Regions from separate parts of the Homo sapiens genome. Here regions 1, 2, 3, 4, 6 and 7 are each linked to region 5. The links are contacts of gene promoters, found by promoter capture Hi-C in blood cells and fetal thymus (Javierre and others, 2016). All regions are on one chromosome and are shown on one strand. Each heading gives the region's core, a stretch centred on a gene start or on the middle of the fragment in contact. The rest is flanking DNA. Distances are from core to core; before and after follow the strand shown. Region 1 overlaps ZSCAN5A-AS1 (ZSCAN5A antisense RNA 1). Region 2 holds the start of ZSCAN5C (zinc finger and SCAN domain containing 5C). Region 3 overlaps ZNF583 (zinc finger protein 583). Region 4 overlaps ZSCAN5A (zinc finger and SCAN domain containing 5A). Region 5 holds the start of LINC01530 (long intergenic non-protein coding RNA 1530). Region 6 overlaps ZNF582 (zinc finger protein 582). Region 7 holds the start of ZNF444 (zinc finger protein 444).

Region 1 (3,579 bases), core at 706-3,205, 4.7 Mb after region 5:
CCTGGCTATGTTTTTTATTCTTTATAGAAATGGGGTCTTGCTATATTTCTCAGGCTGGTCTCGAACTCCTGGCCTCAAGCAATTCTCCCATCTCACCTCCCAAAGTGGGGGATTACAAGTGTGAGCCATAGCACCTGGCCAACTGCAATGATTTTAATTATAAATATATATATTTATTAATAATACATTTACTATGTTTATATATTATGTTTTATAATGTACATGTTAAATATGTATACCATATAAGTCATACACATATTGAATATAAATATGCACATTATATTAAATGACATTAAATATATACAAATATCTTATATGTATGATATATAATTTTACATCCCAAAATGCATATTTTACAATATAAGTGCATGCATATCTTATACTATCTAGGTATAAATGTATTTTATGTATTCTATACAAATACTATACAATACATAAATTTATGTATATATTCAATTTTACACATCTACTAATATATGTAATCTATTTTGTTTTTACATGTGTATTTACATACACATGCGATACATATGCACTGTAGTTCATGTATTACATATGCATAGTTGTGTGTTATATGTAGTATTACATAAGTATCCATACGTGTATATATTTCCCATGTAAATGAATATGTGTAGTATAGATAATTCATATATATCAAAATATGATAGTATACATGATATATTCACATTAGTACATATTTTGATACATATACATTATAAACCTTACATACATTTATATTATGAAGTATATCCACATAGTTAGAAGTAGCTTAATAATAAACTCAACATTTATGGTAGTGGTCATGTATGGGAGTAGCACAGTGAAGGGAGAAAGAGAGAAGCATGGATGGACAGGAGAAGTGATCAGTGTTTACTCCTTAGGTGGATGGGGATGTTTTTGGTAGTTCATCATTTTACTATGTTTTATAACTGACATGTATGTTGCAAGTTGTTTTTTCAACATATTGAATACTTCCAAAGATACAATTATAAAGAAAAATGCTGTCACAGAATGCAAACTTCCTGTTTTAAAAATTTTACTATTTTATTATAAAATAATTTTAGTTTTATGACATTAAAAAAACATATTTGTGGCCAGGCGCAGTGGCTCATGCCTGTGATCCCAGCACTTTGGGAGGCCTAGGCAGGTGGATCACGAAGTCAGGAGTTTGAGACCAGCCTGACCAACATGGTGAAACCCCATCTCTACTAAATACAAAAATTAGCTGGGCATGGTGGTGCGCACCTGTAATCCCAGCTACTTAGGAGGCTTAGGCAGGAGAATCACTTGAACCGAGGATTGCAGTGAGCTGAAATCACACCATTGCACTCCAGCCTGGGCTACAGAGCATGACTCTGACTCAAAAAAAAAAAATTGTTCCAAAAAATGGGTAAAATATGGTAAAGAAGATAATCACATAAACCAAATGTGGGTCAAAGAAGAAATATGGCCAGGCGCGGTGGCTCATGCCTGTAATCCCAGCACTTTGGGAGGCCGAGGCAGGTGGATCATGAGGTCAGGAGATCGAGACCACGGTGAAACCCCATCTCTACTAAAAATACAAAAAAAAAAAATTAGCTGGGCATGGTGGCGGGCATCTGTAGTCCCAGCTGCTGGGGAGGCTGAGGCAGGAGAATGGCGTGAACCCAGGAGGCGGAGCTTGCAGTGAGCCGAGATGGCGCCACTGCACTCCAGCCTGGGCGACAGAGCGAGACTCCGTCTCAAAAAAAAAAAAAAATAAATAAATAAATAAATAAAAGAAATGTAACAGAAATTTTAAAAATAATTTGACCTTGGCTGGGCATGGTGGCTCATACCTGTAATCCCAGCATTTAGGGAGGCCAAGGTGGATGGATCAGTTGAGGCCAGAAGTATGAGACCAACCTGGCTAACATGGCGAAACCCCGCCTCTACTAAAAATACAAAAATTAGCTGGGCGTGGTGCCATATGCCTGTAAACACAGCTACTTAAGAGGCTGAGGCACGAGAATCAGTTGAATCTGGGAGGCAGAAGTTGCAGTGAGCCGAGATCGTGTCACTGTACTCCAGCCTGGGTGACAGAGCCAGGCTCTGTCTCAGAAAACAAAAACAAAAACAAACAAACAAACAAAAGTTGAACTAAATAAAAATGAAGTTACAACTTACCAGATTTGTAGGATGAAGCAAAAGAAATGCTAAGAGGGAAATAGGAGAGTTATAGTATTAAGTATATCAGTAAAGAAGATAATTCTATATTCAATAGTCTATGTTTATACCTTAGGAAACTAGAAAAAGTACTGTATTCTGTACTCTAATCCCAAAGCAAGCAGAAGAAATAATAATAATAATTGGAGTAGAAATTATTGAAATTGAAAATAGAAAAATAGAGAAAGTCAACATCTAAATATTCCTTGAAATAGTCAATACAATTTAAAAAACATAAAAAAAAAGTTTTTCATGATAATTTACTTTCTCACATCTTGGTAGGTCAAATATCTTATTTTGTTCTTTGTGTATCACCATTGTAATCTGGGTAGTTTATTTATCCCAACAATGAATGTTTTTATTTTTAAAAAATTTTTATTTCAAAACTAATTTCCACTTTAGGTTCATGGAATACATGAGTAGGTGTGTTACTTAGGTATGTTGCATGATGCTGAGGTTTGATGATTGATCCTGTCACTCAGATAGAAAGCACAGTACCCAATAGTTTTTCAGCCCTTGCCTCTTGTCTTGCTTCTCCCCTCTGGTACTCCCCAGTGTCTACTGTTCCCATCTTTATGTCCATGTGTGCTCAGTGTTTAACTTCCACTTATAAGTGAGAACATGCAGTGTTTGGTTTTCTGTTCCTGTGTTAATTCACTTAGGATAATGGTTTCTACCTGCATCGATGTCACTGCAAAGCACAAGATTTTGTTCCGTTTTATGACTGCATAGTATTCCATGGTGTATATGTACCACATTTTCTTTATCCAATCCACTAATAATGGGCAGCTATGTTGATTTCACATCTTTGCTTTTGTGAATAGCGCTGCAATGAACATATGGGTGCATGTGTCTTTTTGGTACAAAAATTTATTTTCTTTTGGATATAAAACCAGTAATGAATTGCTGGGTCAAAGGATAGTTCTGTTTTAAGTTCTTTGAAAAATCTCCAAACTGCTTTTCATAGTGGCTGAACTAATTTACATTCCCACCACAGTGTATAAGCATTCCCTTTTCTCAGTAGCCTTGCCAGCATCTCTTGTTTTTTTTACTTTTTAATAATAGTCATTTTGACTGGTGTAAGATGGCATCTCATTATTGTGGTTTTGACTTTCATTTCTCTGACGACTAGTAAAGTTAAGCATTTATTCATGTTTGTTGGCTGCTTGTTTTCTTTTGACAAGTGTCTGTTTACATCTTTTGCCTACTTTTAAGGGGGTTACTTTATTTTTGCTTGTTTAGTTGTTTACTTTTTATGTTGATTCTGAATATTAGACCTTTTTTGATGCAGTTTTTGAATATTTTCTCCCATTCTATAGGTGGTCTGTTACTCTGTTATTAGTTTCGTTTGCTGTGTAATTAGATCCAATTTGTCATTTTTTTGTTGCAATAGCTTTT
Region 2 (3,552 bases), core at 761-3,260, 4.6 Mb after region 5:
GATAATGAAAAGAAAATAGTCACTATGTGAGTTGACGAATACATTAATTAGCTTGATTGTAGTGATAATTACACCATGAATAGGGATATGTAAACACCAGCATGGTGACCTTAGTCACCAAGGACGGATAGAGGCCAGGAATTGGAGAGCAGCCTGGGCAACATAGCGATACCCCCATCTTTACAAAAAAGTTTGTTAATTAGCCCAGTGTGGTGGTGCTTGCCTGTAACTCCAGATACTCAGGAGGCTGGAGCAGGAGGCTCTCTTGAGCCCAGGGGTTCAAGGCTGCAGTGAGCTATGAGTTTTCCATTGCACCCAGCCAAGGTGACACAGTGAGACCTTGGCTCTAAAAATAAATCAATCAATAAACAAATTTATCCACACAGGTAGGAGATCTCTACAAGAAAAACTATAAAATACTGATGAGAGGAAATGAAGAGGGCACACAAATGGAAAGATAGTCCATCTTCATAAATCGGAAGAATTCACATTGTGAAAATGACCACACTATTAAATAGAGATCTACAGATCCAACTCAATCCCTACCAAAATGTCAAGGACATTCCTCATGAGAACATGACATGTTTCAAGAGGAGAGGATTGGAGGGAATTGGGTAGGTAGATGGTGGTTTTAGGCAGATTCTAGTTCATTCCACTTAATAACTCCATCTGAACTCTGACTCACTATCAATACCTCAATTCTTAACAAGGAAAAACATCACAGAGTATGAGAAAATGCATCAGAAAATAAGTGTCAGAACTTTTTGGCAAAATGACCTTGTATCGGGCACTTTACTGACATAATCTGGTTTTTTGTTTGTTTGCTTTTTGAGATGGAGTTTTGCTCTTGTTGTCCAGGCTGGAGTGCAATGGCATGATCTCAGCTCACTGTAACCTCCGCCTCCCGGGTTCAAGTGATTCTCCTGCCTGAGCCTCCCGAGTAACTGGGATTACAGGCATGCGCCACCACGCCTGGCTAATTTTGTATTTTTAGTAGAGATGGGGTTTCTCCATGTTGGTCAGGCTGGTCTCAAACTCCTGACCTTGTGATCCACCCGCCTCAGCCTCCCAAAGTGCTGGGATTATAGGCGGGAGCCACCACTTCCGGCCAACATAATCTTATTTAATCTTCAAAACAACATGTCAGGAAGGTAATAATTCCCTGGTTCTAGTCACAGGGAGTTTGAAGTTTCCAGAATTCAGTGGGTTAAGATTTCCTAAGGATTGAAACCAGAATCAGTATAAAGTGCACTTAATTGTCATTCCACATGGTCTCCATGATCCACACAGTAAAATTCATACCACCATTAAGGCTTTTCTTGCTTGAGAGGCCTAACTGAGGGGGTTGAGAACTAGGGAGCACTCAGTATGTCTATAAACCACCTCCCATCATCCTAAAGTGAATGCAGAGTGGGGACCATGTGCCTTCCTCTGGTTCCCACTGTTTTTACCTAAGAGTAGGTTGGCTGATATCAAAGCAGTGATTTAGCCTAGTTCAAGCACAGCTTTCCCATGTCAATTCCCAGATTTTGAAAAGTGAAAAATTATCACTACTACTCATTATGTATCAACAATGACTGTCCCTTTTTTTTTCAATATCTTGACATTCACATGTGAAAGCTTTCCTTAAACTAGAGCAAATCACTGGTTTGATATTATTCAACCAACTCTTAACATGTCCTTTACTCATTAGGATATTACTGTCTGTGCCATGAGGGGACGCAAAGTGGTTAAAACTTGCAGATCTATAGTCCCTGAAGCCTCCAAATACTTCAGAAATATGAAATGTAATTCAGTAGAGCGGGAAAACCTATGTTATTTGCATGGTAGGCATGTTTAATACATTAATTTCCTGTGGGTGGGGTTTCATTGAGAAATGTAATCAATGCTAATCACCTTCAATGGATTCTATGGCCCTAAACCAATCATGTGGGGGCCCAGGGGACTGGAAGAGAGGCCTGGAGTCCCGGGGGTTCTCTATAAATAGACAGTTCAGCTCCAGAGCAGTTGGAGAGCACATCCTAGAAGAGAGGAGGCTGGAGGCAGAAGTCAGGAAGGAGGTAAGTGTCCACTGGGGATGTCTGTGGGGTTTTGGAGTTGGCCTGCAGGGGTTGGTTTCAGAAAGATTTGGATTGAGGGGTTGGTTTCAGAAAGATTTGGGTTGGGGTGTTGGTTTCAGAAAGATTTGGGTTTATTTTTTCATGCATTTGCCCGGACACCTTGTGAAGGCAGTGGGTCTGCTTTGCACCCTATTATTTATTCTGACTTGTTATATAACTCTCCCTTAAAATAGGAATAATATTAACTTTCTCATCGTGGTTAGGCTACATTTTATTTTTTAGAGATGAGATCTCTCTCATTGCCCAGACTAGACTGGAATTCCCGGACTCAAACGATCCGCCTGCCTCTGCTTCCCAAGTAGCAGGAACTACAGGCACTTGCCACCATGCCTGAATAAATGTTTAATTTTTTTTGTACAGATGGGGTCTCAGTACATTGCCCAGGCTGGTCCTGAACTCCTGGGATCAAGCATGCTCCCATCTTGGTCTTCCAAACTGTTGGAATTACAGGTGTGAGCCACCTTGCTGGCCACACACCACTTGTTAAAAAGCATCGCTGGATTCTCCCTTTCCACAGGGTAAAATCAGCCATTGATGAATGGGCATCAACCTACTAGGCCAATGAGAATCTGCACTAAGTGTCCCTACCTGGGGGTCCTGTGTGCTGTATACTCCCAGAATTGAATACTAACCCGCGTACCTGCCTTTATTTTTTCCCATGTCCCATTGCTTGTTTTAATGGGAAATGAACTGACAGCGAATACAAAGTGGTTTCTAGGAACATGAACCCCTTTTTTTAGAGACAGGCTCTCACTATGTTGCCCAGGTGGTTGTCAAACTCCTGGGCTCGAGGGATCCTCCCTCCTCAGCCTCCTGAGCAGCAGCAGGTGCCCTGTGGCAAAATCATTTTTAATTCCAGAATTTCAGGCTGCCTTTTCTCTCTCATATCCATATGCTTTTTCAAAAAAAAAAATTTACTTTTAAATTGAAAAACAAGAAAGATACGTATTTATGGTGTACAGCATAATGTGCTTTGCAGGATAGAAACAATGTAAAATGGGTAAATTGAGCTGATATTCACATGCCTTACTTTATGGACTAATCATTTTTGGTCATGAGGATGCTTAAAGTCTACTCTTTAAGCAATTTCCAATTATACAATACATTGTTATGAACTGAAGTCACCATGTTGGACAATTGCTCTCTTGAACTGATCTCTTCAACTGAAATTCATACCCTTAAACCTATATCTCCCCAACCCTCACCATAGCCCTGTTAACCACCATTCTACTCACTGCTACTATGAGTCTACTGGGAATTTTTTTTTTTTTTTTTTTTTTTTTGGTGACAGAGTTTTGCTCTTGTTGCCCAGGCTGGAGTGCAATGGCGCGATCTCTGTTCACCACAACCTCTGGCTCCCGGGTTGAAGTGATTCTCCTGCCTCAGCTTCCCAAGTAGCTGGGATTACAGGCATGTGCCACCAAGCCTGGCT
Region 3 (3,713 bases), core at 746-3,245, 4.8 Mb after region 5:
GGCAGGGATTTTTCCAGGCACTCCGTGGGCTTTGAAGAACAGTATTCCAGGGAATAATGAGGTACCATTTTAGGGACATTCTGAGTGTCCACAGCTATGTTATTCTAGGTCATCCAGTTAAGATTAGTGGAATTAATATGTAAAAAATAGCAGAACTTTGTTTTGGAAAAGACTAATGGGAGAGCACTTGAATCTGCATTAAAATAAAAGCTGTATATGTCTATAATAATGAAAACAGTTGATAGTGTGGAATGGAGCCAGAAGAAACATACAATGTTAAGAAACAAATCCAAGTATAAGAATTCCATAAGAATGGAAATCTTCATTCACTGAACATATAGTTATTAAAGGCCTTGTGCTAATTGCTGTGATAAATAAAAATAAATAAAAATAAACACCTTGTGCCAAGTGCTGTGATAAATAGGCCCTGTCTTTGTCTTCATAGAATTTAATGTATACTAGTTTATTATATGATGTACTGATATTATTTTAAATCAGTGGGAAAGGGATGGATTATTCATCTAGTAAAAAAAATTCTCTGCACTTAGAGAAAAATACATAGAGGTTAAATGCATTGTATAGGTTAAATATATATATATACACACACACACCTCTAGGTTAAAATATGGAAAATGGAGAAAGAGTAAGGTGAGGCAGATGCAGAAATCAACTAGTACAGCACTGTCCAATAGAACTTTCTGTGATGATTGACAATAGAAATGTTCTATATCTGCAGTGTTTAACATAGTAGCCACTAGCCAGATGTGGCTACAAAGACTTGTATATACTAGCATGACTGAGAAACTGAATTTTTCATGTTAATTGATTTAAATTTAGCCGTATGTAGCTAGTAGCTAGTGTATTAGACAGCACAGTCTTAGGCTTATAAAACAGTAAAGCCAGGAAGATAATTATGGGTGATCTTGTCCAAGTTTCTCATTCTACAGATGAAGAAAAAGAGGCCAGGGGAAGAAAGTGACATGTCCACGTAACCAGTTAGTGACTGAGTCAGATGTAAGAAGTTGTAATAAAAATTGAGGGTCAGTAATGTCGATGATGATGAGTGATGATATGAAAAGGGTGGTAGAAAATGATGAGGGACACTGTAGCGAGTCTGTGATGGGGCTCATTATTTCACTCCCATGCCCAGAACCTTCATTGCCTTCCTATCTTACTTGGAATGAAATCCAGTGTCCTAACCATGGCCTATAAGGCCCTTTGTGCTTCAGGTCCTGGCTTTCCTAGACCTCATTTTCTACAAGTATTTACCTCTCTTCATTTTAATCACAGTTGTGAATTTGCTGTCCCTCAGACTTACTGTGCTTTTTCTTGTCTCTGGACTTTTGCATTTGCCCCCCCATCCCCCTACATGTTGACATAGCTTGCTCCCCCATTTCATTTAGATTGTTGTTCAAACCTTACCTCTTCATTTAGACTTACCTTGACTATATTATCTACAATAAACAGCCTATCACTCTTAATCACCCTTTACCTTCTTTTGTTTTTTGTGGCATATGTCACTACCTGACATGTATGACCTTATGTTTAATGTTTTTCTCCTTTGTTAGAATATTAAGAGGAGGAACTTTGTTTTGTTCACCTTTGTATTCCTGACTCTTAGAATAGTGCCTGGTTGGTAATAGGCATTCAGATGAATTCCTTATCTGTGAGTGAGACCAGGATAGCTAGAGTTAGCCACCTCTTCTTTCCTGCTACTGATTTGGTAACAGAAGAAAGAAAAAGCTGAAAGTATGATGTGTAGAATAGGTGGAACCCATTAGCCCAAATGCTGTTTCCAGGACCCCACCCCAGACCTCCTGAATCATGGTCTCTTGGTGGCACCTAAGAAAACACATTTTTATTGGGTTTCCCAGGATGATGATTATCTTTTTTTGAGATGGGGTCTCACTATTTTGCCCAGGCTGGTTTTGAACTTCTGGCCTCCAGCTGTCTTCCTGCCTCAGCCTCCCAAGTAGCCAAGTAGCTGGGTTACAGGTATCCAGGATGATTTTAATGCATGGTTTTTGAGAACCTCTGCCTTTAAAGATTATATTTAAAGTATGCCTCTTGTAAGCAGCATATAACTGGCTAGTTTTAAAAAAGCTAGCCTGATAATCTTAATCTTTTAGTGTTTATTACATATTTAATGTAATACTTATACGTACGTGCTTAAAGCTACTGTGTTTCTGTTTGTTTTCCATTTATCCCATCTGTTCTTTTTTCCTTTGTTTCTCCTTTTTTGCTTTTTTTTGGTTAAGTCAGGTATTTTTCCTTATTATTTTAGTAATTATACATAATTTTTATTGTTCTTTTAGTGGCTTTTCTAAGATAATATTCATCCATTACTCATATGTAGTAATCCTTCTTTCTTCTGTAATCTTCCTCCTATGATTAGTACCCTTATCACTTCCTGAACAGGATAAGATGCCTATGGTGATTTAACTCCACAATATTCTTATTGCTCTATTTGTAATTACTGCTTTAGAACTCTTAATTTCTTCCTGTGTTTTCATGCTTCCATTTTCCTTCTGTATTACTAATACCTGAAGAACTCTTCGAGTATGTCTTCGAGTGCAAGCCAACACTTTACTCCCACCCTGAATTGTTTTTTCAATTCAAAAACAATTTGACCGTATCGTTGCTGGGTCAAAATAGTGTAATTAAAAATTTTTTTGAGGTTAAGTAATTTTGTGAAATCCTGGTCTCAATGGAGAGAATGACGTCTGTGAATCGATTTTAAGAAAATAATTCAAGACCTATGCAACATCATAGTAAAACATTAAGATTTATCCAGCTGGGTGTGGTGGCTCACGCCTGTAATCCCAGCACTTTGGGGGGCCGAGGTGGGTGGATCATCTGAGGTCGGGAGTTCAAGACCAGCCTGGCCAACATGGTGAAACCCCATCTCTACTAAAAATACAAAAAAATTAGCTGAGCGTGGTGGTGGGCCCCTGTAATCCCAGCTACTTGGGAAGCTGAGGCAGGAGAATTGCTTGAACATGGGAGGTGGAGGTTGCTGTGAGCCAAGATCGCACCACTGCTCTCCAGCCTGGGCGACAGAGCAAGACTCCATGTCAAAAACACAAACAGCAACAACAACAAAAATTAAGATTTACCCAACTGAAAATAAGCATGGGGGTTAGTAAATAAGATAGGGCATAATTATACTGTATAATAGTACTCAGCCAATAAAAGTGACATTATCAGTAAGTGAAATATATACATAATCATAGACATTAGTATAAGGAACCGTTTGAGCAGATTATACTAACTATAAATTATAATTGCTTTTAGGAGGTAGGGTGACATGGGAGTAGGCATGGGGGTGAAAGACTTCCAATTCTTTAACTTAAAAAGGGAAAAAATTGGCTGGGTGAGGTGGCTCACCCCTGTAATCAATCCCAGCATCCTAGCACTTTGGGAGGCCCAGGCAGGAGGATCCCTTCAGCCCAGGAGTTTGAGACCAGCCTGGGCAACATAGTGAGACATCATCTGTACCAAAAAAAAAAAAAAAATTACCTGTGCCTGGTGATGAGTGCCTGTGGTCCCAGCTGCTTGAGAGGCTGAGGTTGGGAGGATCATTCAAGCCTGACAGGTTGAGACTGCAATCAGCCATGATTGTGACACTGTACTCCAGCCTTGGCGACAGAGCAAGATCCGGTCTCCCAAAAAATAAAATTAAAACAAAGGAGTGGGGGGAAATCACTGAGGGT
Region 4 (3,769 bases), core at 43-2,542, 4.7 Mb after region 5:
GACACGTCCCAGTGACATGAAGTGTAGAGGCCAGTTAAGAGGCTACTCAGTTTCCACGAGATGACGGTAGCCTGGTCAAGGCTAGGGTCCAGGGTACGGAGAGAAAGTACGAAAGACAGATGGGAGGTTTCTCTTCCCTCGATAGCTGCAAAGAGGGTCCCCCTGGCCTCTCCCGCATCGCCAGAGAAAGTACTAAGGACAGATGGGAGATTTCTCTTCCCTTGATAGCTACAAAGAGGCTCCTCCCTGGCCTCTCCCACGTCGCCAGAGAAAGTACTAAGGACAGATGGGAGACTTCTCTTCCCTCGGTATCTGCAAAGAGGGTCCCCCCCGGCCTCTCCCCTGTTGCCAGAGAAAGTACTAAGGACAGATGGGAGATTTCTCTTCCCTTGATAGCTACAAAGAGGCTCCTCCCTGGCTTCTCCCACGTCGCCAGAGAAAGTACTAAGGACAGATGGGAGATTTCTCTTCCCTTGATAGCTACAAAGAGGCTCCTCCCTGGCCTCTCCCACGTCGCCAGAGAAAGTACTAAGGACAGATGGGAGACTTCTCTTCCCTCGGTATCTGCAAAGAGGGTCCCCCCCGGCCTCTCCCCTGTTGCCAGAGAAAGTACTAAGGACAGATGGGAGATTTCTCTTCCCTTGATAGCTACAAAGAGGCTCCTCCCTGGCTTCTCCCACGTCGCCAGAGAAAGTACTAAGGACAGATGGGAGATTTCTCTTCCCTTGATAGCTACAAAGAGGCTCCTCCCTGGCCTCTCCCACGTCGCCAGAGAAAGTACTAAGGACAGATGGGAGACTTCTCTTCCCTTGATAGCTACAAAGAGGCTCCTCCCTGGCCTCTCCCACGTCGCCAGAGAAAGTACTAAGGACAGATGGGAGACTTCTCTTCCCTCGGTATCTGCAAAGAGGGTCCCCCCCGGCCTCTCCCCTGTTGCCAGAGAAAGTACTAAGGACAGATGGGAGATTTCTCTTCCCTTGATAGCTACAAAGAGGCTCCTCCCTGGCCTCTCCCACGTCGCCAGAGAAAGTACTAAGGACAGATGGGAGATTTCTCTTCCCTTGATAGCTACAAAGAGGCTCCTCCCTGGCCTCTCCCACGTCGCCTGCCTTTCATCCTCTCCCTGGCATCCCCAGTGCCCTTTTTACATTAAAAAATGTCAACTCGATCATACGATATACCCCCACCCCCTGCTGCAGTCCTGCTTAAATCCACCAGTGGAAACTCACCAACTATGATGAGTGTCTTTCAAACTTTAAAAGAAAGAAAATCCAAAACACTTTTCTACTGAAATCTTACATGGAATCCCAATATATAAAAAATTCTAAGTTGCTTTTCATTACCAGAGGTACTTTTCCTAAGGTTAACTGTGTGACATTTACTTATTATGAAGTGAGGTGATGAGATTTGCAAGCACAGGGTACAGAAGGCCTCTGCTGTCTTACGTTACTCTCTTTTACCCCGTATCTTGCAGTGTTTCCTTTTAATTGTTCATACGGAGAAAAATCTGAGCCCACAGAGATAAGTCACTGCAAATGCCTAATAGTTTGCCTTGTGAAGTGTACATGCCCTTCAGGTAATACAATTTTTTCCCCAAGGTCTGTATGTAAAACATGCAACAGGTTGGTGTGGCTCTCCAGTGAATAAAAATTTCAGTCCATGTGCTATATTTTGGGTACACACCTATTTTAAAAAATAGTTTAATTTTTGAAATGAAAATCAAAGCAAACCTTTGTGGAATTCCTAAAAGATCCCAAGTTTTCAGGGAACCTGGCAGGAAGCCTCTGCCCCATTGATCAAGTTCAGGTCTCTGGCATGGTACCCAAGGGTTCTCAGGCTCCAAGCTCCTCCTGCTTCTCTAAACTTTTCTCCACTTCTCTTGATCCCCCCACCCACATTCCATCCCCTGTCCATATTAAACCTTTTTTTTTGAGACAGGGTCTCGCTCTGTCGCCAGGCTGGAGCGCAGTGGCGCAATCTTGGCTCACTGCAACCTCCGCCTCCCGGGTTCAAGCAATTCTCCTGCCTCAGCCTCCCAAGTAGCTGGGACTACAGGCGAGTGCCACCACGCCCAGCTAAGTTTTGTACTTTTAGTAGAGACGGGGTTTCACCATGTTGGCCAGGATGGTCTCGATCTCTTGACCTTGTGATCCGCCCGCCTCGGCCTCCCAAAGTGCTGGGATTACAGGCGTGAGCGGTGGCTCCCAGTCTTTTTTTTTTGAGATGGAGGCTCACTCTGTCACCCAGGCTGGAGAACAGTGGCCCAATCTCAGCTCACTGCAACCTCTGCCTCCCAGGTTCAAACGATTCTCCTGCCTCAGACTCCCAAGTAGCTGGGATTACAGGCATGCACCACCACACCTGGCTAATTTTTGTATTTTTAGTAGAGATGAAGTTTCACCATGTTGTCCAGGCTGGTCTCGAACTCCTGACCTCAGGTGACCCACCCACCTCGGCCTCCCAAAGTGCTGGGATTACAGGCATGAGCCACCACGCCCCCCCATATTAAATCATTTCTGATTCCCCCCAAAACATCACATTTTTTTTCCCGCTCCATTATGCCATTGCACACATTGATTCCTTGATCTCTGTCTACCTAGAAAAGTCCTCCTCAGTCCTCAAGATTCACCTAAGCAATGCTTTGGTTCAGGAACCAACAGCAATCCTTCAGATTCCACTGGGGAGGATGCTGAAGGAAATGAATGGTGTTGAACGGTTTCTCAGGCTCTCTTCAACCATACATTAAAGCACCGGTCAAACCAGATAGTTATTTTCATATAAAGGTGTGCTTTCAACCCATTAGGCAAGAGGTTGGCAAACTTTCTCTGTGAAGGGCCAAATATTACGTGTTGGCTTTTCAGGTCATATGGTCTGTTGCAACTACTCTAGTCAAAGCAATCGTAGAGAATACACTGATGGCTGTGACTGTACCCAACAACTGATGAAAGGATAAACAAAACGTAGTGCATTCATACAATGGATTATTATTCAGCCCCCAAAAGAGGAATGGGGTCCTGGCACGTGCAACAACACGGCTGAACCTTGAAAACACTGTGCTGAGTGAAAGAAGCAGACACAAAAGATCACACAGTAGATGATGCCATGTATATGAAACAGACAGATCTGGCAAATTCAAAGAGACAGAAGGCCAATTACTAGTTGTCAGGGGCTGAGGGGAGGAAGGAACAAGGGGAGTGACTGCTTTTAATGGATTTCTTTTTTGGGTTGATGAAAATGTTCCACTCTTAGAAGTGACAATTGCACAACATGGCGAATGTAATGAAGGCCACTAAATTGTGCCCTTTCAAAATGGTTAAAATGGTGAATTTTATGTTATGCATTATGTTTGCATTTTACCTCAATTACAAAAAGAAACTTTATTAAAAGGGATGCAGGCTGCAGTTGGCCCTGCGGAACACAGTTTGAGGGCCCCTGCTCACATAGACTGTGAGCCCCTGTGGGAGCAGGAAGTACCCCTGATCCATCCCTGGAACTCCAGCACCCAGAAGCAAACCTTAAGGTTCTCTTCCTGCAACTCTGAGTGACTCCAGCACACCAGGCTAGGGGGTGCAGCCCAGCCAGGCCTGGGCAGTCCCTGCTCCTGCGGGGCGCGCCCTCTAGTGGGAGGTAGGGGTGCAACACAAGCTCAGGCCCGGCGCCGGGACAGTGAGGAACTGGAGGGGGCGCTGCTTCCCACTGGCTGGTTTCTAGAAGAGCCCTGCTCTGAGGAGGAGACACTTGCCCTGGTGATGGGGCAGAGCTAGGGTCC
Region 5 (3,432 bases), core at 235-2,734:
ACTGGGTCTCCTGAGGCTTGGAAGTTATGTCCACAGTGAGGTTGGTGTAGAGGGGCAGCCACTCTTTGGAGAGCAACCTGTAGCCCAGACAGTTGATGCCATCATCAGAGGATCCAGGGATCGGAGGATTGGCGGATCCGGGACAGAAGGCGAGGCCTGGAGGATGGGGAGGGGCAGCCATGTGAGCCTCAGGGAGGACCCAGAACCAACCACCCCACTTCCAACACTGATTCACCTCCAGGGCCTCTGCTTGTGGCCAGGATCTTCCCCCTCCAGCATATGGTAGCCTCTGAAAAGCAGGTGGGGCTGGGAGAGGAGCATCCCGCTTAGTTTCACCCTTCCAGAGACACAGGAAGGCATGGAGGCCAAACACCTGTCTCTGACAGGGTCCCCATGCCACAGCCCAGCCCTCCAGTCCAGGGTAGCCCATGTCCCCCTCAGCCCAGGGCGGCCCATACCTGCCTCATCATGTCAGGACCTGCAGCTCCTGCCTCCCACCTGGCAGTGATGTCATCCTCATCATCCCAACCCCACTACACGTTGGAGAAGCCATTTATCTTCAGGTAGTGAGTGGGGTGCAGGGCAAACACCCCTCCAAGGCACAAGCTAACGGCTTAATTGCTGTTGTTTCCCCATGTTCTGGCTTGCAGCACTTGTAACCTCTGGGCTCCTGCAGCCCTTAACATCTGATACCTTTACATTAAGATTTATCATCCTTATCTCTGGACCAGGCTGAATACACCTGTGTCCCGGTGCATCTGGCCAGCGGGTCAAAGGGCCTAGCACACAGATTAACAAATGAATGAGTTCCAGTTACCAAAGTTCAATCCTTGAGGTGGACAGAAGACGCCCAAGGCGTGTCTCCCATCACCCTTCACTCTCAATCCTCCTTATCAAGGGCCTCACGGGAATAGTGATAAGATCTCAGAATATACAGGAGGGAGCAGTTTCGGGAAGGGGGGCATTGGAAGGAAGTGGAGGGCTTGGATCTGGGGAGCAAGCGGGGAGAGTGCTCCGTTCCTTGGTTTTGGGATCTTGCCTTACGGGTCTCACCTGCCCTCCATCCTGGCTTCCACCTGGCAGGGTGTGTTTGTGTCAGAAAGACGATTGTGCGTAACTGTTCACCGCGTCCACGTCCCGAGAGTTGCGCACGCGTGGAGATCTGCAAAACGCTCCCTTTCAGCTCCGCGCATGCACAGAGACCCCACCCCGCAAGTCCTTGCCCTTCGGCCTGGGCAGGCGTCCACTCCCATGGCTGCAGGGCGCGCCGAAGAGCCCACTCTGCATCCCCGAGACGCGGCCCAATCCTAGGAATGTGCTTAGCGCAGGTGCTATCTTCCCTTTTCACATTCCCAATCTCTTTCTCCGCCCCCTCAAACTCTTGCCATACTCCCACAACAGCAGAAAATCTGAAAAAAAAGTCCATCCCATCTTTGCACTGACAGCAGTGCACAGCAGCTGGCAGAGAATTCTGGCACGGCTATTGTGCTTGCGCAGGCGCAGACGGGAAGCGGGCCGGACCGGCCTAGTACACTCTGGGAGGCGTGCGCAGAATGCGCAGCGCTGCCGCGAGGATCTCTGGGAACTGTAGGCCCAGTTTGTCCGAGAGCCGCAAGTGTTTCGGGACGACGCAACGCAGGGGCACCTGGGAGTCGTAGGCGGATGGGCCCAAAGCCTTCCGGGAGTCGTAGTCCTTCCGCCCGCTCCTCGTTTCTTTGGAGGTTGGCCCTTCCAGCTCCAGTTCTGCCCAGGTGAGCGCCCATCCCGCGGCCGGCCGGTCCTGGCCCTTTGTCGCGATGACGTGGCGGAGTTGAGGGTCTCTGTATTTCTCTCCCCCGCGTTCTGGTAGGCGTCCCTGGAAAGATGGCACCCTTTTCCGTGATCTCTCAATCCCTCTCTCCGGGTGGGAGTGCTCTAAGCAGCTGTTGTACCTGCTGACCCGCTTTGGATTCTGCGGCCCAGCCTGACACCTTCTCACTCTCGCCCTTCAACCTGGGTGCAGTGCGAGTGCACCCTCCTCTGTCCTGGTTACAACACAGAGTGGTCAGGGCTGGCCCAGGGGGTGCTCAGGAGGCTGTGGGAACACAGAGGAGGTGCTAGACCCAGCCCAGGGTTCAGGAAAGACCTTACAGAGCAAAGGACCTCAAATCTACCACATCCAAACGAAATCCCAGATTCCCTGTCCTAAACCTGCTCCTCTCACAATCTTTCTGCCTCCTCCCCACTAACTGTCCATCCAAGTGCTCAAGCCAAAATCTTGGAATGGTCGCCAGTGTTCTGTTTCTCTCATCCGCTTCCCTCCCGCAACCAAATCTTGTGTGAGTCTCATCGTCTCTATCTCCAGAAGAGGCCCAGAATCTAACCACTTCTCTCCACTTCCACTGTCTCCATTCTGCTCCGAGCTACCGTTACTCCTCACCTGCATCACTGCAGGGGCCTCCTCACTGTTCTGTTTCTTCCCTTGCCACACTCCACCCTCTATTCAGGCACAGTGCCAGGAAGCCTGTGGAAATATAAATCAGATCCTGTCACCAGTCACTACCCTGCCCCCCAGCTTAAAATCATCCAGTGGTTCCCATCTCAGAATAAAATCCAAGCTCCTTATCCTGCCAACCTCTAAGCTTCTGGTCCTTTCTGGTCGTCCTCAGTCACAACACACTTTCCAATGGGCTGAACACAGCCAGGCCCTGCCCTTCATGTCCTTTGCATTTGCTATTAACTCAATTTGGAGCATTCTTCCCACCCTGACCCAATATCTGTCTACTCATTTTGTTGGCCTCAGCTCAAAGGCCTCCAGCCACCCTAAAGAACCCCCTCCCTGTTCCCCCCCCCCCAGTCATACCACCAAAGATAATTCCCTCGTATTTGGAAAGCATCTTAGTCATTTACTTCCTTATCCATGGCCTGGTTCCTCCATTAGAACATCAGTGCCCTGACAGCTGCAACCTTTCCTATCTTGCTCACTGCTGTGTCCCAGTACCTAGAGCATGCTGGGTACATAGGCGGCACTCAGTGGGTATTTGTTAAATGAATGAATGAAAGTTTGAGCTGAGACTTGAAGGTAAGAGTTAGGTCTACCACAGTGTTTAGGGAAGTGTCTTGCGCAATGAGATCAGCCTGGCCAAAGATGCAAGGGGTTGAAAAACCAATGGGAAGTTCATCTGGCTGAGGTGAGTAGGTAACTAAAACAGGGATGCAACTGGATCTGATAAGGACCTCAGGAAGTGAACCCCAGTACTAGGTGACTGCAGATTCAGAGGTTGAAAAAGCTGAGTTGTCTTCCATAGAGAAGCTGGGTGAAAGGTGGTGTTGCTTCCGGGAGACGGGGAGCTTGGTTAGGTAAGTTTCTGCCTTGGGGTGTGAGAGCTGGTCAGTTGGGCACTGAGATATGAGAGGCCTAGATGGGATCTTCCGTGGGGCATTTGGAGGGCC
Region 6 (3,816 bases), core at 99-2,598, 4.8 Mb after region 5:
ACCTTTTCATACTTTAAATTGATATATGTATATAACCCTTAAACGTTTATGTTCATGATAATTCTGTTGAGACTTCTGGCTAAGGATGTTGCTATACTGGTATATAAAATGTGCACAATTAAACTCCAGTGTGATACTACTCATTTCAGTATATATGAGTGCTGTATTTTGTGCAGTAGCTTTATCTTAATATGGCTCTTTGTGAATGCACTTTATAGCATTTATTGAGGGTGAAAGAGCAGGAGGGAATTCTATGTTACGTATTTCTATAAAAACATTGGTCATTTATTCAACAGAACCAGTATTCCTAACATTTGTCTGGGTTTTAGATATGTTGTTCTGCAGATCTATTCACTGTAGTGATCCCAACATTATTGAAAATTACCAAGCTTTTACTGCTCTCACCAGTGAAAAACTGTACCTTCTTAAATTCTGTCAGCATGTCACATTTATTGTAATCAACAGTAACTGGATGTTTCTGAGGTGTTTTGATTGGACTCAAAAGTATTACAATCAGTTTGGAGACAAAAACACAATCTGCATTTTAGTTTAAGTATGACACTGATGACTTAAAAAAAAACTATATACAAACGTTCTATATAAAGTTTGCCTCCAAAGTATTTCTCTTTCTCTTTCTTTTTTGCAGGGGAGATGGGGTCTCATTCTGTTGCCCAGGCTGGAGTGCAGAGGCACAATCATATTATACTACAACCTCAAACTCCTAGGCTCAGGTGATTCTCCTCTGTCAGCCTTCTGAGTAGCTGGGACTACAGGCATGAGTTATTACGCCTGGCTGCAGAGGGATTTTAATATGTAAAAGTATTAACACAGTGTATTAACTTTGTGCCCACGCAAATCTCTTTTCTATCACATCCTTATGTTCTTCGACAGATTGACTTTTATGCTTCTCCTTTTAGAAACATAAAATTGTTTTATTCTTAGTTTTAAAAAACATTTGAATGTGTACCCTTGCTTATGCGAAGATTTATGACCTACTAGTCATAGCTAAATAGTCAACATTGTAAGAGCTGATACTTTTTGGTTCATGTGAGGTTTGGCATTCTTGCATTTATGTACACGGATGTCAATTGTGTGGACTTCTTCTGTATTTATGTTAACTAGCTTTTACTGAATTGTTGAAACTAAAAAAGTTAAAAACGTGCTTATAAAAAAAGGGGGGGGGGATTATGTCCAAAGAACCCAGGAGCCAGTTTGAAAGGGTGTCACTGGGCAAGTCTGGAAAACTATGAACGTTGTGATAAATAATGATAATGGGTAATAATCTGTTACAGGATAAAACAAGATTTATTTTATTCTGACCTGGAAATGAGAAAAAATATGCCACCTACTATTAATCCATATGATATAAATGAAGAAACAAATGGTGAAAGGGAGAAAGCTCTTCTTTACAGGAGTATGTGATCTAATAAATAAGAATAAAGTTTTTTTAAAAATCACTATTTTGTAACTATTAATCATATCTGATCCAAGAGAAAACTATCAATGACTTCTGAAACTAGCAGGTGAATAATTTGTGAGAAGCACAATATTTATATCCTCTCCAGGTGGACCATAAAATCATGGCTTGCCTCTATTTCTACAGTGCTTTCCCTCTGCCCACAGTGCAGAACCCAAACTTCATAACGTGGTTGCCTTTCCTAGCGTATCTTTTTTTTTCTTTTTGAGACAGAGTCTCTCTCTGTTGCCCCAGCTGGAGCGCAGTGGTTCGATCTCGGATCACTGCAATCTCCGCCTCCCGTGTTCAAGCGATTCTCCTGCTTCAGCCTCCCAAGTAGCTGGGATTATAGGCACGTGCCACCACACCCGGCTAATTTTTGTGATTTTAGTCGGGACGAGGTTTCACCATGTTGGCCAGACTGGTCAAGTGATTTGGCCGCCTCAGCCTCCCAAAGTGCTGGGATTATAAGCATGAGCCACCATGCCCGGCCCCTAGTGTATCTCTGTGTTCCTCCCTTTGCTCACTGACCTCAGCCACAAGGGCCATCCATTATCTCAGAGGTACCAAGGGCTCCCTGCTCAGGTCCTTCACACTCATTGGCTACAACTGGTATTCCCCAGCTACATCACACCTTCCATGTCTCAGCTGAAATGCCTTATCCTTGAAGAGGCCATTGGCCCTACCATGCACCCTGACTGAACCTGTTCTTTTTCTTTCACATATTAGCTCATGTCCAGTGTGTATGATTTCATGTCTATTTTCCCACTGCAGTGTAAGTTCCATGAAAGCAAGGATAATGTCCACCTGCCTCATCAATGTATACTGTGGCATATTCCATGGTGCATAATAAAAGCTTAATAAGTACTTGTTAACTGACTCCAGAATTCAAACAAACCGATACAAATTCCTTTAGAAAAATGGTCAAAGGACAAGATCATGTCCTTTGCAGGGACATGGATGGAGCTGGAAGCCATTATCCTAAGCAAACTAACACAGGAACGGAAAACCAAATACTGCATGTTCTCACTTATAAGTGGGAGCTAAATGAGGACACATGGACACACAGAGCGGGACAACACACATGGGCCTTTCAGAGAATGGAAGGTTGGGCGGAGGGAGAGAATCAGGAACAGTAACTAATGAGTACTAGGCTTAATACCTGGGTGATGAAATAATCTGTAAACAAACCCCCATGACACAAGTTTACCTATTTAACAAACCTGCACTTATACTCCTGAAGTTAAAAAAAATTTTAAATATTAAAATTAAAATTAATAAAAAAAGAAAAATGGTCAAAAGATACAGACATCTTTCCAAAGACAAAATACTTTCCTTAGGAACCACCATATTTGTACTCAGTCTAGCCCTATAATCCAGGTTGAATTTTTAAAGTGTTTCAGGAGGAAGGAGCAGCCACCTTTGTCAAATGCTGCTGACGAGCTGAGGAAAACAACACGTAAGACATAAGCTTTGAAGGTAGCAACCTGCAGGGAAGATCTTCTAAGACAAAGGGCCACTTCCAGCGGACCTGATACCTGCAGTGGCTGCTCCCTTCCCAATGATACCTCACTCACCTGGACACAGGCCTCCAGACACCACTCTCTCCACCATCCAGGGCTCTTTGCCTTGCTCTAGGAAGGAGATCACATCAGGTTTGGAAACGGCAAGACCTGGAGATGAGAAGAAACATGCCACCTGGTTATGGTGTGGGGGCCCCAGAATTCAGATCCAGGACCTGGTCATCAAGCAGGAGAGGCAGTTGCAGGAAGTGCCAGAGGAAGATGGGACAGTTGCCTGGGGGTAGGGGGATGCAGCTTCAGCCGACAGCGCCGCCCTTTAACCCCTCAAAAATGACCAACCAATCATAAGACTGAAAAGCACCCAAAAACTGACCAGGAAGGAACATGCCCAAGGATAACCTCCAAACTAACAGACGAGATCACCTTACCCAGTGAGACCAGGTTGCTGTAGGTCTCCAACATCACGTCTCTGTACAAATCCCTCTGAGCAGGTGCCAACCACTGCCATTCTTCTTGGGAGAAGACTATGGCCACATCCCTGAACAATTCTGACCCCTGGAATGACAGGCATGTATGATATATATGTATTTCAATGGTTCACAGTGGGATGAAAGGAGATGGGGCAGGTCTTTGCGGGAGGGGGGGTTGTTTTGTTGAACAAGAAGGGTGGGACTGAATGTGAAAGGTGACAGAAGAAATGGGGATGAGTAAAACAGAATGATCAAATTGTTCTCAAACATTCCTTTTAACTGCAAATCAATGCTCTGTGTACAGGTCTGGGATGAAAATTAAAATCAAGCTAAATGGAGTTTTCCTTATTGTTAAGAAACAGTGTAA
Region 7 (3,419 bases), core at 594-3,093, 4.5 Mb after region 5:
TTGGGAGGCCGAGGAGGCAGATCACTTGAGGCCAGGAGTTCGAGACCAGCCTGGCCAACATGGCAAACCCCATCTCTATTAAAAATACAAAAATTAGCTGGGCATGGTGGTGCACGCCTGTAGTCCTGGCTACTCAGGAGGATGCAGCATGAGAATCACTTGAGACTGGGAGTCGGAGGTTGCAGTGAGCTGTGATCGCACCACTGCACTCCAGCCTGGGCAACACAGCCAGACCCTGTATCAAAAAACAAAACAAAACAAAACAAAAAACCAAAAAAAAAAAAAGAAAAAAGAATCAAGGGCTGCTTTTCTATTTTTGGCCTCAACATTTGGGTGAAGATGGACTTGCTTTCTAAGATGGTGGAGTAATGGGAAGGAACAAATTTCTTCGCAAGGTGGGGGAGAGAGTGAAAAATTATCTACTGCCCACCTTAGGTTTGAGATGCCTATTAAGAAATCCAAGAGGAGATGTCAAGTAGGCCATCGGATATGAGTGGGAAGAAGATCAGCGTGCTCTAGGAGCAGAAAGGAGGCATGACTGGAACTCATTAAACACGAGGAGAAGACAGTGGTAGACAGGTGGGCCAGGGCAGATTAGGCCACCGTGGGCAAACTGGTCACAAAGTTCTGAGTCAGCCACTCATCGCTTGTGAAACCTGGGGAAAGTTGTTCATTTATGAATATAAGACGAACAACTTCCATGTAATGAATGCTTGTTATGGGTAAGCCACTGTCTTCGTTTTTATGGCGCGGAGTCTTCAGATCAGCCGGGGAGGTGGAGGATGGGAGGGGGATTCTCTTATCCTTGTTGTACGGAGGAGGAAATACGCTGCGGGCTGGGGTAGGGCTTGTATGAGCCATAATCAGGTCTGGAACTGTCTAGATAAAAACTTCAGCTGATCTCTTAGGATGTCTGTCTGCTCTAAAATCCAAATATGCTTCTTCACAGTTCTGAGATGCAGAAACTGAGGCCTCAGGACGGGGCAGTAGTCTGTCCAATAGGGGCACAGCGAGGACGCGTGGCAGGTAGCGCTGTCCCCCAATTCACCCCAGGGGAAACTGAGGCTAAAGAGAGGGCGGTGTCCTGTCCAGGTTCACACACAGGAAGAGCCAAACCGAGGCCCCCGCGCTGGCCCCCTCCTGAGCCACTGCCCACCCCGGAACAGGAGGGCAGCCTGCTCACGTCCTGATTCCTGGCACCGACATCGGCCCTTAAGTTCTGCCCGGGTGGAGAGGGAGGACAAAAAAAAATGCGATCCGTAGTCAAGGAGACGTAGCCTGCACTCCTGATTGGCGCAGAACTCTAGCCTGGTCTCCTCCTCCTCCTCCTCTTCGCTTGCCAGCTTCTAGAGCTCCGGAGGCCCCACCTCCCAAATGCCCGGCGGTGCCCGGCCTCCCCTGATCTCCACAACAACGCCGCCATGGCTCCTCCTCCTCCTCCCTCTTTTTTTCCCGGCACTTCTGCGCATGTCCAGGGCCCGCGCGCAGACCACTGGGAAGCCTCCTCGTGCATTCTGGGAAATGTAGTCCAAAGCCTGTCGCGCTCAGACAGCCCGCGACATTTGCGCCGTCAAGGCCAAATAGGCTGCAGACGACGCTTTCGCGTATCTTGGGAAATGTAGTTCCAGTGTTGGCGAAGACGCCACGCGGTGACAAACAGGAGTAAGGCGGTCCCCAGGCGAGGGCCAATTGGCAGCCGCCTTTGCCGCGATGCTTCCTGGGAGTTGTAGTTCGGGGTGAGGCCGGGGCTTCATGGGGAGTTGTTGGGCTGAACGAGCGGCTCGGAGTATGGGATTGGGGGAGGGGGACGGGGGAGTTTGGCGCAAAGCCTGCTGGGGCATGGAGTCCCGGCGAGCTTTGTGCGCATGTGCGGGGAGGTGAGGGGGCTTGGGGGGCCTCGCCTGAGAGAGTGAGGTGAGCGAGGGGGGAAGGAGGGAGGGATTGGGTGGGGGCGGTTGGACGAGGGAGGGACCAGAGGTTGGATGGGAAGAGGGGCGCCGGGGGCCTCAGGAGGGAAAGATGGGAGACTTGCGGGGAGGGGAGGAGAAGGGGGCTGAGTGATGGGGAAGGGGCTGGGAGAGGGAACTAGAGGGGGAGGGACTTGGAGAGGGGGAGGGGTGGATAGTGGGAGGGGGTCGTGGATCCTCGAGGTCCTGAACGCGGGAGAGAAATGCTGAGGGAGAGGACGGGGGAGGGGCGCCTGGGGGAGGGGGAGGGGCGGGACGGGGGAGGGACAGGTGGGGGAGGGGAAGGGGACCCTAGCAGAGGGTGGGCTGTGAGATGAAAGCTGAGTGGGAAGCTGGACCCTACAAAGGAGTCTGGGGGCGCCGGGACCGGACCCCTTCGGAAAGGTTTGCGGGAAGGGGCTTCCGGGGACGATGGTTATTGTTGTAACGTAGATACGGCGCAGGTGGCTCGTTTTGCGCGCTGCTTCTACAAGTGCAACTTTTACAGAGTTGTGAGATTCCTGAAGATAAGAATCGTTGCTCTGTTTTGCTGCTTTCTCAGTGCGGAGCATCTGCCTTTTTAGCTTGTTGCAAGGCATTATTACCTTCGGTAATATGTGTAAAGTGCTTAGAAACTCTGTTTATTGTCAAATGAAGTTGACCCCCGCCACCTCTACCCCAGTCAGGATGGAGTCACCCTCCTCTATATCCGATTTTAACGCCTATTCCAATGTATACTTAGTATTTTAATCTGCGTGCGTGTTCATAGCAGTGTCCCCTGGGCACCTCGCAGGGAAACTTCGACAAAGTAACCCTAAGTCTGACTGGACACTTACTAGCCAGGTGTGGTTCTCAGCATTTTTGTTCTCCTTCTATCACTTTACAGTCAACGAAATGGAGATACAGGGTATTACAAAAGGTGCCTTGTACCTCGTCCAAGGACACAGAGCTGGTAGGAGGCAGAGCTGGAATTTGCCCCAGAGCCTTTGTGCCGTAGGTAAATATTTGTCCAGTGGGCCAGCGGCTCTCAACCAGGAGTGGTTTTGTCCCCCAGGGGACATGTGGCAATGTCTGGAGACTTTTTTTTTGGTTTTTCCAACTTGGGAAGTGCTACTGGCATCTCATGAAAAGAGGCAGAGATGCTGGTAGACATCGTATGTTGCACAGGATAGCCCGCCACGACACAAGTGCCATTAATGTCGAGGTTGGGAACCTAGAGTAGACAAACCGGTCTTTGTCGAGCACTTAGCCTTTGGAGGCTGCTTCTAACTCCTGCTCCCAGCAGCCTCTTGAGAGGAAGGAGCTCTTGTTAGTCCTGTGTCTCAGGTGGAGAAATGAAGCACAGAGGGGGTAAGTCACACGTCCACAGTCACACTGCTGATGAGTGGCAGAGCTGGAAGTTGAAGCCAGGCAGCCAGACTCCACAGCCTCTTAGCCATGATATTAACCCAGCATATGTGGGTGCTGGTGCCG

The links. Contacts are between HindIII fragments. The CHiCAGO score rates a contact against its expected background, and 5 or more counts as called.
Region 1: a fragment that was not itself captured here is called in contact with the fragment with the promoter of LINC01530 in region 5 in 1 of 17 cell types (total CD4 T cells); the score reaches 5.9 in total CD4 T cells.
Region 2: the fragment with the promoter of ZSCAN5C here is called in contact with the fragment with the promoter of LINC01530 in region 5 in 2 of 17 cell types (activated CD4 T cells and total CD4 T cells); the score reaches 5.6 in activated CD4 T cells.
Region 3: a fragment that was not itself captured here is called in contact with the fragment with the promoter of LINC01530 in region 5 in 2 of 17 cell types (total CD4 T cells and non-activated CD4 T cells); the score reaches 8.1 in total CD4 T cells.
Region 4: a contact is called between a fragment that was not itself captured here and the fragment with the promoter of LINC01530 in region 5, in 4 of 17 cell types (total CD4 T cells, non-activated CD4 T cells, naive CD8 T cells and 1 more). The highest score is 8.6, in total CD4 T cells.
Region 6: a fragment that was not itself captured here is called in contact with the fragment with the promoter of LINC01530 in region 5 in 3 of 17 cell types (non-activated CD4 T cells, total CD4 T cells and activated CD4 T cells); the score reaches 9.6 in non-activated CD4 T cells.
Region 7: the fragment with the promoter of ZNF444 here is called in contact with the fragment with the promoter of LINC01530 in region 5 in 5 of 17 cell types (total CD8 T cells, activated CD4 T cells, total CD4 T cells and 2 more); the score reaches 11.4 in total CD8 T cells.

Annotation. Positions count from the first base shown.
Region 1 is chr19:56,327,275-56,330,853 of GRCh38, forward strand. All of the region lies in intron 1 of ZSCAN5A-AS1 (ZSCAN5A antisense RNA 1), which reads left to right. It also overlaps a transcript of ZSCAN5A not described here. Among named protein-coding and RNA genes, the nearest start is that of ZSCAN5A, 14 kb to the left of the region's middle. The HindIII fragment of the contact is 8,424 bases long and covers 1-3,579 here.
Region 2 is chr19:56,200,263-56,203,814 of GRCh38, forward strand. It overlaps ZSCAN5C (zinc finger and SCAN domain containing 5C), which reads left to right and starts at 2,011. Exons shown (of 5, transcript NM_001358413.3): 1 at 2,011-2,060. The HindIII fragment of the contact is 5,550 bases long and covers 1,619-3,552 here.
Region 3 is chr19:56,407,626-56,411,338 of GRCh38, forward strand. The region is part of intron 2 of ZNF583 (zinc finger protein 583); the gene reads left to right. Among named protein-coding and RNA genes, the nearest start is that of ZNF583, 5.2 kb to the left of the region's middle. The HindIII fragment of the contact is 4,293 bases long and covers 1-3,713 here.
Region 4 is chr19:56,306,122-56,309,890 of GRCh38, forward strand. All of the region lies in intron 2 of ZSCAN5A (zinc finger and SCAN domain containing 5A), which reads right to left. All of the region lies in intron 14 of EDDM13 (epididymal protein 13), which reads left to right. It overlaps LOC124900420, which reads left to right. Exons shown (of 5, transcript XM_047439799.1): 5 at 1-3,769. The coding sequence starts at 120. The coding sequence ends at 1,238. Among named protein-coding and RNA genes, the nearest start is that of ZSCAN5A-AS1, 6.7 kb to the right of the region's middle. The HindIII fragment of the contact is 6,781 bases long and covers 1-3,769 here.
Region 5 is chr19:51,592,896-51,596,327 of GRCh38, forward strand. It overlaps LINC01530 (long intergenic non-protein coding RNA 1530), which reads right to left and starts at 1,485. Exons shown (of 2, transcript NR_034159.1): 1 at 1,054-1,485; 2 at 1-156. RefSeq lists enhancers at 1-564, 565-1,200, 1,201-1,836, 1,583-1,892, 2,103-2,152 and a silencer at 2,235-2,402. The HindIII fragment of the contact is 8,842 bases long and covers 1-2,619 here.
Region 6 is chr19:56,386,968-56,390,783 of GRCh38, forward strand. It overlaps ZNF582 (zinc finger protein 582), which reads right to left. Exons shown (of 5, transcript NM_001320371.4): 3 at 3,408-3,534; 4 at 3,034-3,129. Among named protein-coding and RNA genes, the nearest start is that of ZNF582, 4.7 kb to the right of the region's middle. The HindIII fragment of the contact is 1,923 bases long and covers 388-2,310 here.
Region 7 is chr19:56,139,444-56,142,862 of GRCh38, forward strand. ZNF444 (zinc finger protein 444) reads left to right here and starts at 1,844. Exons shown (of 5, transcript NM_018337.4): 1 at 1,844-1,914. RefSeq lists enhancers at 1,307-1,636, 1,667-1,806. The HindIII fragment of the contact is 17,292 bases long and covers 1-3,419 here.